Linked DNA regions of Homo sapiens: region 1 is linked to region 2. The links are contacts of gene promoters, found by promoter capture Hi-C in blood cells and fetal thymus (Javierre and others, 2016). All regions are on one chromosome and are shown on one strand. The core of a region is centred on a gene start or on the middle of the fragment in contact, and the rest is flanking DNA. Distances in the headings are between cores, read along the strand shown. Region 1 has its middle 5.6 kb from the start of MIR614. Region 2 holds the start of GSG1 (germ cell associated 1).

Region 1 (5,824 bases), core at 135-2,634, 180 kb after region 2:
CCAGGAATTTCTGAGATTCTCACAGACTACTGAAGAAGATGTCTGGGGAGCATGAAAGCTTCTCCACAGCCAGCCATGGTGACTGACACCTGTAATCTCAGCACTTTGGGAGGCCAAGGCAGAAGGACTGCTTGAGCTTGGGAGTTCAAGACCAGCCTGGGCAACATAGAGAGAGCCCCCCCACCCCCGCCATCTCTATAAAAAATCAAAAAAAGCTAGGTGTGATGGTGCACACCTGTAGTCCAAGTTACTCAGAAGCCTAGGGCAGGTAGATTGCCCAGCCTGGGTGACAGGGCAAGACAAGAAAGAAAAGAAAGAAAAAGAAGAAAGAAAGAAAGAAAGAAAGAAAGAAAGAAAGAAAGAAAGAAAGAAAGAAAGAAAGAAAGAAAGAAAGAAAGAAAAAGAAAGAAGGAAGGAAGGAAGGAAGGAAGGAAGGAAGGAAGGAAGGAAGGAAGGAAAGGAAGGAAGGAAGGAAGGAAGGAAGGAGGGAGGGAAGAAAGAAAAGGAAGGAAGGAAGGAAGGAAGGAAGGAAGGAAGGAAGGAAAGAAAAGAAAAGAAAGAAAGAGAAAGAGAGAAAGAGAGAGAAAGAAAGAGAGAAAGAGAGAAAGAAAGAGAGAAAGAGAGAAAGAAAAGGAAAGAGAAGAGAGGCCGGGCACGGTGGCTCATGCCTGTAATCCCAGCACTTTGGGAGGCCGAGGCGGGCGGATCACAAGGTCAGGAGATTGGGACCAAGCTCGCTAATGCGGTGAAACCCCATCTGTACTAAAAGTACCAAAAGTTAGCCGGGCGTGGTGGCAGGCGCCTGTAGTCCCAGCTACTTGGGAGGCTGAGGCGGGAGAATGGTGTGAACCCAGGAGGCGGAGCTTGCAGTGAGCCCAGATCGCGCCACTGCACTCCAGCCTGGGCAACAAAGCGAGACTCCGTCAAGAAAGAAAAGAAAAGAGAAGAAAAGAAGGAGGGAGGGAGGGAGGGAAGGAAGGAAGGAGGGAGGGAGGGAAGGAGGGAAGGAAGGAAGGAAGGAAACCTCTCCATTATGCAGAATATATAAACAGCCATTTTTCTTTCTAAACTCTAGTTTTCTTTTAAAGTTAAATGCAACACCCATGCATGCAGACTGTAGCCCTGATGATCTGGGAAAAATATACAGGTACCAATTCATCAATTCATTGTTTCTGGCACTGCCGCCAGGTTTGTCAGAGAAAGGAAAGGACAGAGGACTTGGCCAGGGCCTTGGGGGCGGGGAGGGGACGGCCAACATAATCAAAAGAACCATCTCTGAGCATGCCGGGTTCTGTGCATTTAGCAGGCTGCTCCTCCTCACCTTGTCCCCCGTCTTTCATGAAGCCAGGGCGTTCTAGAAACGTAGAGGAAAAACTGGAATGACGTTCTATGATGAGGTCAAACCCATCTGCCCAATTTCACACACAGGTCTGACCCTTTGGGAATTGTAACAATATTTTCCTGAATTCCTGATTCTCTTTTTTTTTTTTTTTTTTTTTTGAGATGGAGTCTTGCTCTGTCACCCAGGCTGGATGGAGTGCAATGGCATGATCTCAGCTCACTGCAACCTCCACCTCCCTGGTTCAAGTGATTCTCCTGCCTGAGCCTCCTGAGTAGCTGGGATTCCAGGCGCATGCCACCACGCCTGGCTAATTTTTTGTATTTTTAATAGAGACAAGGTTTCACCATGTTGGTCAGGTTGGTCTCGAACTCCTGACCTCGTGATCTGCCCGCCTCGGCCTCCCACAGTGCTGGCATTACAGGTACGAGCCACTGCACCCGGCCAAATTCCTGATTCTTAAGTCCTTAATTTTAACTTTAGTGTAACATTCTTTTATCTTCATTACTTTGCCAGGCCTCTGATTTTACAACTCTTCCTCCTACTTATCGGCTCTCACTCCCCATCCCCTCACCCTCACTCTGACGCTTTCTTCCCAAGGAAGCCCTGGCACCCCACCCCTTCCTCTGCCTCCCTCTAATTCAGTACAGTCAGATGCTCCCTTGGGCCCTCATTCTGGCTCCCAAGTATCCAGAGGTCATGGGTTTGTGATTCAGATGACTAAACTCATGCTACCCAAGTACAATGCACAAGCCTTTTTGATTCTGCTGAGTAACACGAATCATGGGGTTCTTTCTTATGCAATTAATCACCCTCAAAGACAACGTGGAGTAGTTTTTTGTTTTTTTGTTTTTTTTTTTTTTTTTTTTTTTTTTTCTTAAAAAGACAGTAGTTTTTGTCTAAAGAACGAAATCAAGCAATAGTTCAGACATTGACTACATGTATCTGGAGTGGGAGAACACAGTGGTGTTTACAAAATTCAAGTGCCTTTGCAAAGGATTTTAGATCATCACCGTGTCCGCAATAAAGTCATATTAACATAGCATGAGCTCTGTTCCCGTGGCAGCTCCCATTCTAAAGCAAGGCTCTGAACAAGGGAGTAGTCCTGCAACACACAGCCCCCTTAATTTTAATCGACACCCAACCATAACACTTACTAAAAGGTGAGGGCCCATCCCAAGAGTGAAGAGCATTTCCATTTTCACCTGAAGGGCAAAGGAAGTGTTTGGGTTGGAGGTATAGGGAAAGAAAACTGTCCAGGAAAACTAACAATCTAAGAACTCTCCATGGCTCTTAGATTCAAATATGAAGAATAACAACTCAGCCAGTGAAAGTCTAAACGCTAAGAGTTACAAGCTGCCTCAAGCTTATCGAAGGCCTTGCTCCAGACAGAATTCCCCACATTGTCCCCAGCAGAGCTGGAGGATGTGTCCTCACCTTTTAATAAGTGTTATTATTGGATGTCATTGGTAGTTGTGTGTTACAAGACAATTCTCTGCTTCATAACTTTGCTTTAGAATGCAAGTTGCCTTAGGAATGGAGCGCATGCTATTTGAATAGCATTGAACTGATTAGTTCATTGAGCTTAAACATCACCAGCCAAGAGAGGACCCGCTATTTTGCAGGAAGCTCTTCTGGAATCTGCTTGCCTAAAATTTCTAACCACAGAGCCACCTGTTAGGCAATCGTTATTAAAGACGGTTGGGAGGCAGCAGGGAGTTATGGATAAGAAATCTGGAGGCACCCCACCCCACCCTGGCTCCCAGTCAATCACTTGACAGCTGTGTTGCCTTCGGTGTTACCTAGCCCCTGGGTGCTTCAGTGTCTGCAGGTGTTAAATAAAAAAGGGATAACAATAGTAATAACCCCAGCCAGGCGCGGTGGCTCACGCCTGTAATCCCAGCACTTTGGGAGGCCGGGGTGGGCGGATCACCTGAGGTCAGGAGTTCGAGACCAGCCTGACCAATACGGAAAAAACCCCGTCTCTACTAAAAATACAAAATTAGCCAGGCGTGGTGGCGCATGCCTGTAATCCCAGCTACTCGGGAGGCTGAGGTAGGAGAATTGCTTGAACCTGGGAGGCGGAGGTTGCGGTGAGCCGAGATCACGCCATTGCACTCCAGCCTGGGCAACAAGAGCTAAACTCCATCTCAAAAAAAAAAAGTAATAACGCATGAGGTTTTTATACATATTAAATTATATTATACATCTAAAGTGCTTAGGCCGGGCACAGTGGCTCACGCCTGTAATCCCAGCACTTTAGGAGGCCGAGGCGGGCGGATCACCTGAGGTCAGGAGTTCGAGACCAGCCTGGCCAATATGGTAAAACCCCGTCTCTACTAAAATACAAGAATTAGCCAGGCATGGTGGCGGGCACCCGTAATCCCAGCTACTCAAGAGGCTGAGGCAGGAGAATTGCTTGAACCCGAGAGGCAGAGGTTGCAGTGAGCCAAGATCGCGACACTGCACTCCAGCCTGAGTGACAAGAGCGAAACTCCATCTCAAAAATAAATAAATAAACAAACAAACAAATAAATAAAGCACTTCAAACAGAGCCTGGCACGGAGTAAGCGCACAGTAAATGTTAGTGATGGTGATGATCATGCCCCTGCAACATCTCCTCCTCTCCGGATTAACTAGCTCCAGTCCCATCAGCCATTCTGCAGGTCATGAAATTCCAAAAATAGCTTCTCTGTTAGAAGCTCCTCCTCCATTAGAGTGAGCTGCAAAGATGTGGATTTTATGCTGTGATGTGGTACCTCAGGGGAACAGCACATGCCTTGACTTGGACTTCACAAATGTGTCAGTGCTGCCTACGATTGCTTTGACTTTCTGGCTGTTGTCTCATCACTGGTCCTTCTCAGTTTTCTAGACACCTCAAACTACCAAGTCTTTTTCATAAAAACTACTGTCAAACCAAGTCTTTCCAATTTGTATTTATGTAATTTACTTTGACAGCACAAATACATTTACATCTATTAAAGTAAATTCTTGTCTTGGGATCTTCATTCCAGCTTATTGCAACATATTTGTATTCTGGTTTTATTATTCAGTCTTTCCTAATTTTGTGTCATGTGCAAAACTTGATAAATGTGCTTTATCTTTATCCAAGTGATTGATGAAAACGTTATCCAAACAGATGCAAAGACAGAGCCCTGTGGCACATCACTAGAGACTTCCATCTAGTAAAGGATCTCTTCTTGAATGTTTCAGTTATGACTCCATCTAACTCTATTATCATGATCTCTGCTTTTTTCCATTGTTCATAAGATATCATGCTGGTCAGGCGCAGTGGCTTATGCCTGTAATCCCAGCACTTTGGGAGGCCAAGGCAGGCGGATCACCTGAGGTCAGGAGTTCGAGACCAGCCTGACCAATATGGAAAAAAACCCCGTCTCTACTAGAAATACAGAATTAGCCGGGCGTGGTGGCGCATGCCTGTAATCCCAGCTCCTCGGGAGGCTGAGGCAGGAGAATCGCTTGAACCCAGGAGGCAGAGGTTGCGGTAAGCCGAGATCGCACCAGTGCACTCCAGCCTGGGAAACAAGGGCGAAACTCCATCTCAAAAAAAAAAAGAAAAAGAAAAGAAATCATGCTAAAAATTGGCACGTGCTTTTTCTCTTTCAATTCCTGGTGGGGGAAAAAAAAAAGTTGGCCTGGAAGCATTTCTTCTTAGAAAGAGAAAGGTGGTAGTCAGGAAACATGGTGCTAGCCCCTACAATCACGTCCCAGAGCTCACAGCATGGCTACATGGGCTTGTCAGAGGAGTTTTCTGAGTTGAGTTGATACAAACCCAGCAGGATTGACAGATCATCACATGGAAGGGGGTTGCACTAGAAGCAACTGGAACCAGGCAATTTGGTGTGGCATATGCCGCAACTAAATTTCACTAACATGTCATTTCTTTTCTGCTGAAGACCACGATTGGATTGGACTTGGATTGAATCACTGGGCTCGGGACAAACATCTTGGCTGAGTCATTACAAACACAAGTTGTCTGCACGGATCTCCAAGGACTACCTCTGCACCTGCTCTCAGAAGCTGCACGGGGAGGGAGGGCTCTTCCAGGTGTGGCACTTACTCCCTGAAGGGAGCCAGAATTCCATGCAAAGAGAAAGAAGGGGGATGGGTGTGGGTTTTTGGCTCACTATGGGCCTCAGGGAAGTTGAAGGAATCAATAACACAAACAAGTGAATAGGAATTCACTGTTGGTTGGGGGCATGGTGGCTCACACCTGCAATCCCAACACTTTGAGAGGCCACAGTGGGAGGATTGCTTGAGCCCAGGAGTTCAAGACCAGCCTGGGCAATATAGTGAGACCCCATCTCTACAAAAAAAAAAATTTCAAAAATTAGCCAAGCGTGGTGGCGCACGCCTCTAGTCCCAGCTACTTAGGAGGCAGAGTGGGAGGATCGCTTGAGCTCAGGAAATGCAGGTTGCAGTGAGCTGAGATCACAGCACTACACTCCAGCCTAGGCGACAAAG
Region 2 (5,590 bases), core at 1,592-4,091:
ACTATATCATAAAAACTTCTCAGAGAAGTGTCACTCCTTCCAGAATCATTTCCATTCCCCACCCCCAGTAAACAACCAACTTTATTGTTTTCTGGTTTATCCTTCCTGAACTTCGTTTGGTAACAATAAGCAGATAGATGTACATTTTGTTTCCCCTCTTTTCTTTTTTACACAAAAGATAGTATACTATATATCCTCTTATGTACTTAGCATTCCATATCAGTTCATAGAAATCTCCCTTGTTTGCTTTGTTTTTTATAGCTGCATAGTACCTCATTGTGTGTATGAACCATAATTAATTCCACCAATTCTTATTTAGGTAGTTTCCATATTTTACAATTACAAATATGTTGTAATGAATAGCTTCATGCCTATTGTTGGAGGTGTATCTTCAGGGTAAATTTCTAGAAGTAGGATTTCTGGGTGATGGGATGCACATGCAGTTGTGTTAGATATTGCCAAATTCACCAAAGGGGTACACCATTTGGGATTCCCACTAGCAATGAGTGAGAGCGTCTGTTCCCCACAGCATCATCAACAGATTGCACTGTCAAACTTTATAATTTTGTCAGTCTGGTGGATGAGAAGTGATATTTCATTCTAGTTTTAAATTGCATTATGTTTACTATATGTGAAGTTGAACATTTTTTCATATATTTAGGGTCATTCATATGTCTCTCTCTCTCTCTCTCTCTTTTTTTTTTTTTTTTCTTTTTTTGAGGCAGTCTTGCGCTGTCACCCAGCATCGCCCAGGCTGGAGTTCAGTGGCAGGATCATGGCTCACTGCAGCCTCAACTTCCCGGGCTCAAGCAATCCTCCCACCTCGGTCTCCCAAGTAGCTGGGACTACAAGCGCTCACAACCTCGCCCAGCTAATTTTTGTACTTTTCGTAGCAATAAGGTTTCACTGTGTTGCCCAGGCTGGTCTTGAACTCCTGGGCTCAAGTTATCCTCCTGCCTCGGCCTCCTGACGTGCTGGGATTAAGCATCCGGCCATAATCTCATTTTTAAAATTCAGATCTCTAGTCCATCTAGAGTTTATTCTTGTATATGATTTTTAAATAAATATAATTTATATTTTTCTAAATGGCTATCTAGTTTATCCCAACAACATTTCTTAAAAAAATCATCTGTGCCCCAGTGATTACAGATATCACCTTTGTCCTATACTGGAAGTCTATACATAGCTGTGTTTATCTCTAGACTTTCTGTTCTCTTCCATTGGCCTGTTTGTCTAGTCATGCACCAGTACCACATTGTTTTTTTTTGGTTTTTTTGTTTTTTTTAATATACTTTAAGTTCTAGCGTACATGTGCACAACGTGCGGGTTTGTTACATATGTATACATGTGCCATGTTGTTTTAATCATAGAGGCTTTGTAGTATGCTTTATATCAATTAGGGCTAGCACCACCTCAGAGCTCTTCCTTTTCAGGGTTTTCCTAGCTAGTCTTGTGTATTTTTTTCCCATATAAACTTTAATATCAACTTGTGTTGGTCTTTTAAAATACTCATGGTTATTTGTATTAAATTTATAAATTAACTTATAACGGACATCTTGATCAATTTAAGATGTGCCAAAAATAAGGCATGTTGTTCCATTGGGGAAGTTATTGGCACTTCGAGATCCGATGTTCTCTCTTAGATACTTCCTTAGGTAGTTTAGGTCATTAAATAAAATAATAAATATTTCTTGAGCAGCTACTATGCCCTTGGCACTATATTAAGCACGATAGAAGTAAAAAACCAGATTCTGTCCTCAAGCAGCTTAGAATTTCACGAGAGAAACAGACTAACACACCAAAAGCAAAGCAGGCATGCTGTATGAGCAAAGAGGAAATGGGGAGTAAGGAGGGCTAGAGCCACAAGGTAGTGAGACTGGAATCATGTGCCCTGAGGTTGTGTAAGATTTAGGCAGGGCAGCAAGGAGAAGGAAGGGATCCCAGTGAGGGGAACCCTGGCAAAAGCTCAGAGGAGGACTGAGTGTGACAGGTTTCACAGGGCAGAGGGCCCCATCCAGACTGTTAGCTGGAATCCTGGATGAGGCCCTCTTCCAGTCTCCGAGAGTTATGCCTCCATATTAACAGTCCCCAAACACTAATTATGTATTCATTAAAATGATGTTAGTGAATGTTTGCTGGGTTTCCAGATACTAGCCCTTTAGAATGGTAATTTCTGTACATTGTTACCTTTTCAGGGAATGGCCTTGAGTTGTGCCATCCAATACAGTAGCTACTTGCCATGTGTGGCTGTGGAGCCCTTATGATATGGATAGTGCAACTGAGCAACTGAATTTCTAATTTTATGTAATTTGAATTCACTAAATTTTAATTTTAAAATGAAAGTAGTATAAAATATTTTTCATTAAACCCAACTTTATTGTGTGGGGAGGGCTACATTTTAAACATAGTATTGTATAACATATGATTGCTGTATCACAGTATGTGTGTCCAATTTACTTTTTTTAATGTGGCTACCAGAAAATTTTAAATGACATATGCTGCCCACATTGCATTTTGCTTTGACAGCACTGGTCTAGAGTCTCACAACTCAGTGTGGTCTGGCTGGACTCACGTGAGAGCCATCCCAGACTCTGCACTTGACTAAGTCAGGATCTGCACTTGACTAAGTTCCCCAGGTGAATCTTATGCACAATAAGATAAGCACTGATCTGGACGACCTCAGAAGACATCCAGCCACTGGTAGGTACCCAGCATGACCCCCCCCAATCCTTATGGGAGGAGGCTGAGGGAGCAACAGGGAGACCCCTGACTGCCGTTGTGACATCACAGAATAAACCCCACGGGTCACCCAACCCCGCCCTGGCTGGTGTCTGGCCCTCAGGACATCCTCTCCAATCCACCACACACCACCTTACCCCTCTGCTGGCAAGAGGGGACCTGATTCATCCTCACGCTAAACACTCATTCTACCCAACTGATTGAGACAGAACAGAAGATAAACTGAAACTTCTCTGCCTTCCCGCTGCAAGAGTGAATGAGCGATCCCTCTCAACTGACTCAAAATGTTTGCCTCACCCAGGAGGTAGGTACAGTGATTTTGAAATCTCATGAACATCTCATACACATATCTTTACTGCTGGATTTGTAACACAGGTTACACTAACTCATCAATTTCATGTATTTCACATGGTCACAGTAAAGAGCTTGGAAATGCACTATAGGGTTCTACAAAATGGAATGAAAATGTGTCACTCAGCCCAGTTTTCATAGATAAAACTGGTATGTCCATACCTTGGCCTATTACCTTTTCATCTTCCTTCATTAAAACTTCCATTTCTTCTTCCCTTGTCTCATCATCTTCCTTCTCCTTTCTGTTCCCAGGGCTCCCTATGCCTCTCCTTTTTTCCTTTCATCTGCATTATTCCCGTTGCCAAAATCTGGAGCCTGGTAAAGGCCCAGTAGCGGTGGCAACAATAGAGCTGTGTGTCACCCCAGTGAGCTGAAAGAGCAGACATCAAGCTCTATGCCAGAGAACAGTGGGGCATCCCCAAGGTCCTGCTGGAAGGCAGCTCTGATCTGGAACTGGGAAGGACAACACACAGTCAAGCTCTTTCTCGTCTCAGAGAATCCAGCAGAATCTTCAGGGATCCTTCCAGACCAGGAAGACTCTCACACTCTGCAGAGAAGTTGCGGCTTGTTTAGCATTTGACCTACATTCAGAAACGACCAGCCTCCCAACTTTCAGCTCTAAGGATTACTTAAAAAAACAAATGGTGTTCATTCTCAGATATCTTGCCTTTCTCAGGAGAGAAAAATGAAGCTTGCAATTAGCCAGCAAACTAGCACATACACAAACACACACACACGTACATACACTCCAACACAGGGAGCAATGTGGTATGTTGTTGACCAGCTGGAAGTTAGGATCTCAAAGGAAAGAACAGGATAACTTAAGAGGCACTTCTGGGACTGCAGAGCTGAGCTGGTGGTTCTGAAGAGCCATCGGAGTGTGGGTTCAGGCAGCTTCCCTAATTCAGAAGCAGCCCCAAGTGAATAGATGACAAAGAAGTGGATGTGAACATGACAGAAAAAGCCAGTCATGGCTTAGAATAAATTTTATTATTGTTCTTTATCAGTGGTTTTCCAGGAGAGACACAGAGGGAATATGGGAGCGTCTGGTTGCTAATATGTACCTGAGAAGTATAAAGTACACTTAATCCATTGCCTCAATCTGCAGGAGGTCCCATAAATCTGGCCTGCAATCTGTACATTTTGTTAAAGGTGACTGTGCCTTGGCTTTTACTGAGTGGCAGCCTGGTGATGAGTCAGGCGAACAGTCCTCAAAGATTGCCAGTGTTGACTTTACCATTTACTAGCTTTGTGGCCTTGAGCAAGTCAAACCCTCCGAATCGGAACCCTCACTTGTAGAATGGGGATGCCACGTCCCTTTCAGGCTGGTTGTGAGGATTAAGGAAGATGTCTGAAGGGTCTAGCAAGGTGTCTGCTGGTAGCACAGGTGCACTTCCCCTTCGTTTCTGCTTAGAGGCACTCTTCTTCTACCTGTTTTCGATTTTCACAGAACTAAGAAGGACAACTCTTTGCCCTCATTTACCCCTGAGGGTAAATTTAACCCTCTGGGAGGTTAAGTAACTTGGCCAAAATCCTCAGTGCAGTCGTGCATTGGGTCGTAAATAGAACTCGGATCTGCTGAGGGGTCTGGGTGGTGAAGTCCCGCCCTGGGGTCTTCCCAATGAGACGCAGACATCCCCTTCCCTTAGAACGGGAGCCTGGGACCCATAGCTTTACCGGGCAGAGGCAGGGAAATGCCTGACTTTGGACTCCAGCAGCTCGACACATCCCGAGCCCTGGCCCACCGGCCTGGGTGTAAGGAATCCCTCCGACTACCCAGTCTCTCCGCCCTCCCGCGCAGCCTCGCCAGGCGGCAGAGGGGACGCGCCTCAGGTGGCCTAGCGCCCCGGCCCAGCTCCGGGACACATGTGGCCCCGCCCTCCGCGGCTCGCCGGGTCCCTGGCCTGCCCTGGCAGTCCCTGCTCTCTGGGAGGGCCCCCGGGACACCGTTCTCAACCGACGGAGGAAGACCCAGAGGAAGAAACAGCCCGGGTACCCCCGCCCGACCCGGTCAGGAAGCCATGGGTGGTTGGCGGCCGCGGGGCGGGGCCTCGCAAACAATGCCAAACACGGCCGGCCTGTCGCCGCGGCAACGCGCCCCGCTGCTAGGCGACCGGGCGCCGTAGTAAACGGGAGAGACGGCGCGTTACTCATCAGGGTGGGAGGGCGCGCTCGGAAGTGGAGATGGCGCGGCCCAGGCACCCCCGAGAGGCCCCACCCGTTACGCCCCCGCCCCGCCCCGCGGTCCCCAAGCGCCCCCGGCCCCAGCCGGCCTGCTGGCGCCGTCACCCGCGCGTGAGCGATTGCCCCACAGGATGTGCAGATGTGGCTGCCCCTCTGATTCACTCCAGCTGCTTGGGGCCTGGAAGAAAGGCGGCTTCCTCTCCTGGAAATGACTGCATTAGCAAAAGTCCTCAAACAATTCCATTAAAAGGCGGAAAGGGAAAGACGAGAACGAGGCCCCGATACGCTTTTCCAGGGTCCTTCCCACTGAATTGAA

What was found. The method cuts DNA at HindIII sites, captures the fragments that hold promoters and counts their contacts. A CHiCAGO score of 5 or more calls a contact.
Region 1: a fragment that was not itself captured here is called in contact with the fragment with the promoter of GSG1 in region 2 in 2 of 17 cell types (M0 macrophages and naive B cells); the score reaches 6.7 in M0 macrophages.

Annotation. Positions count from the first base shown.
Region 1 is chr12:12,918,529-12,924,352 of GRCh38, reverse strand. No RefSeq gene overlaps it. Among named protein-coding and RNA genes, the nearest start is that of MIR614, 5.6 kb to the right of the region's middle. RefSeq lists cis regulatory regions at 2,085, 2,078-2,165, 3,322 and enhancers at 2,013-2,157, 3,250-3,394. The HindIII fragment of the contact is 2,647 bases long and covers 61-2,707 here.
Region 2 is chr12:13,100,918-13,106,507 of GRCh38, reverse strand. GSG1 (germ cell associated 1) reads left to right here and starts at 2,841. Exons shown (of 7, transcript NM_001080555.4): 1 at 2,841-3,043. The coding sequence starts at 2,996. LOC105369666 (a long non-coding RNA gene) reads right to left here and starts at 5,078. Exons shown (of 2, transcript XR_931369.3): 1 at 4,768-5,078; 2 at 4,062-4,521. RefSeq lists silencers at 4,903-4,952, 5,233-5,462. The HindIII fragment of the contact is 5,406 bases long and covers 1-3,783 here.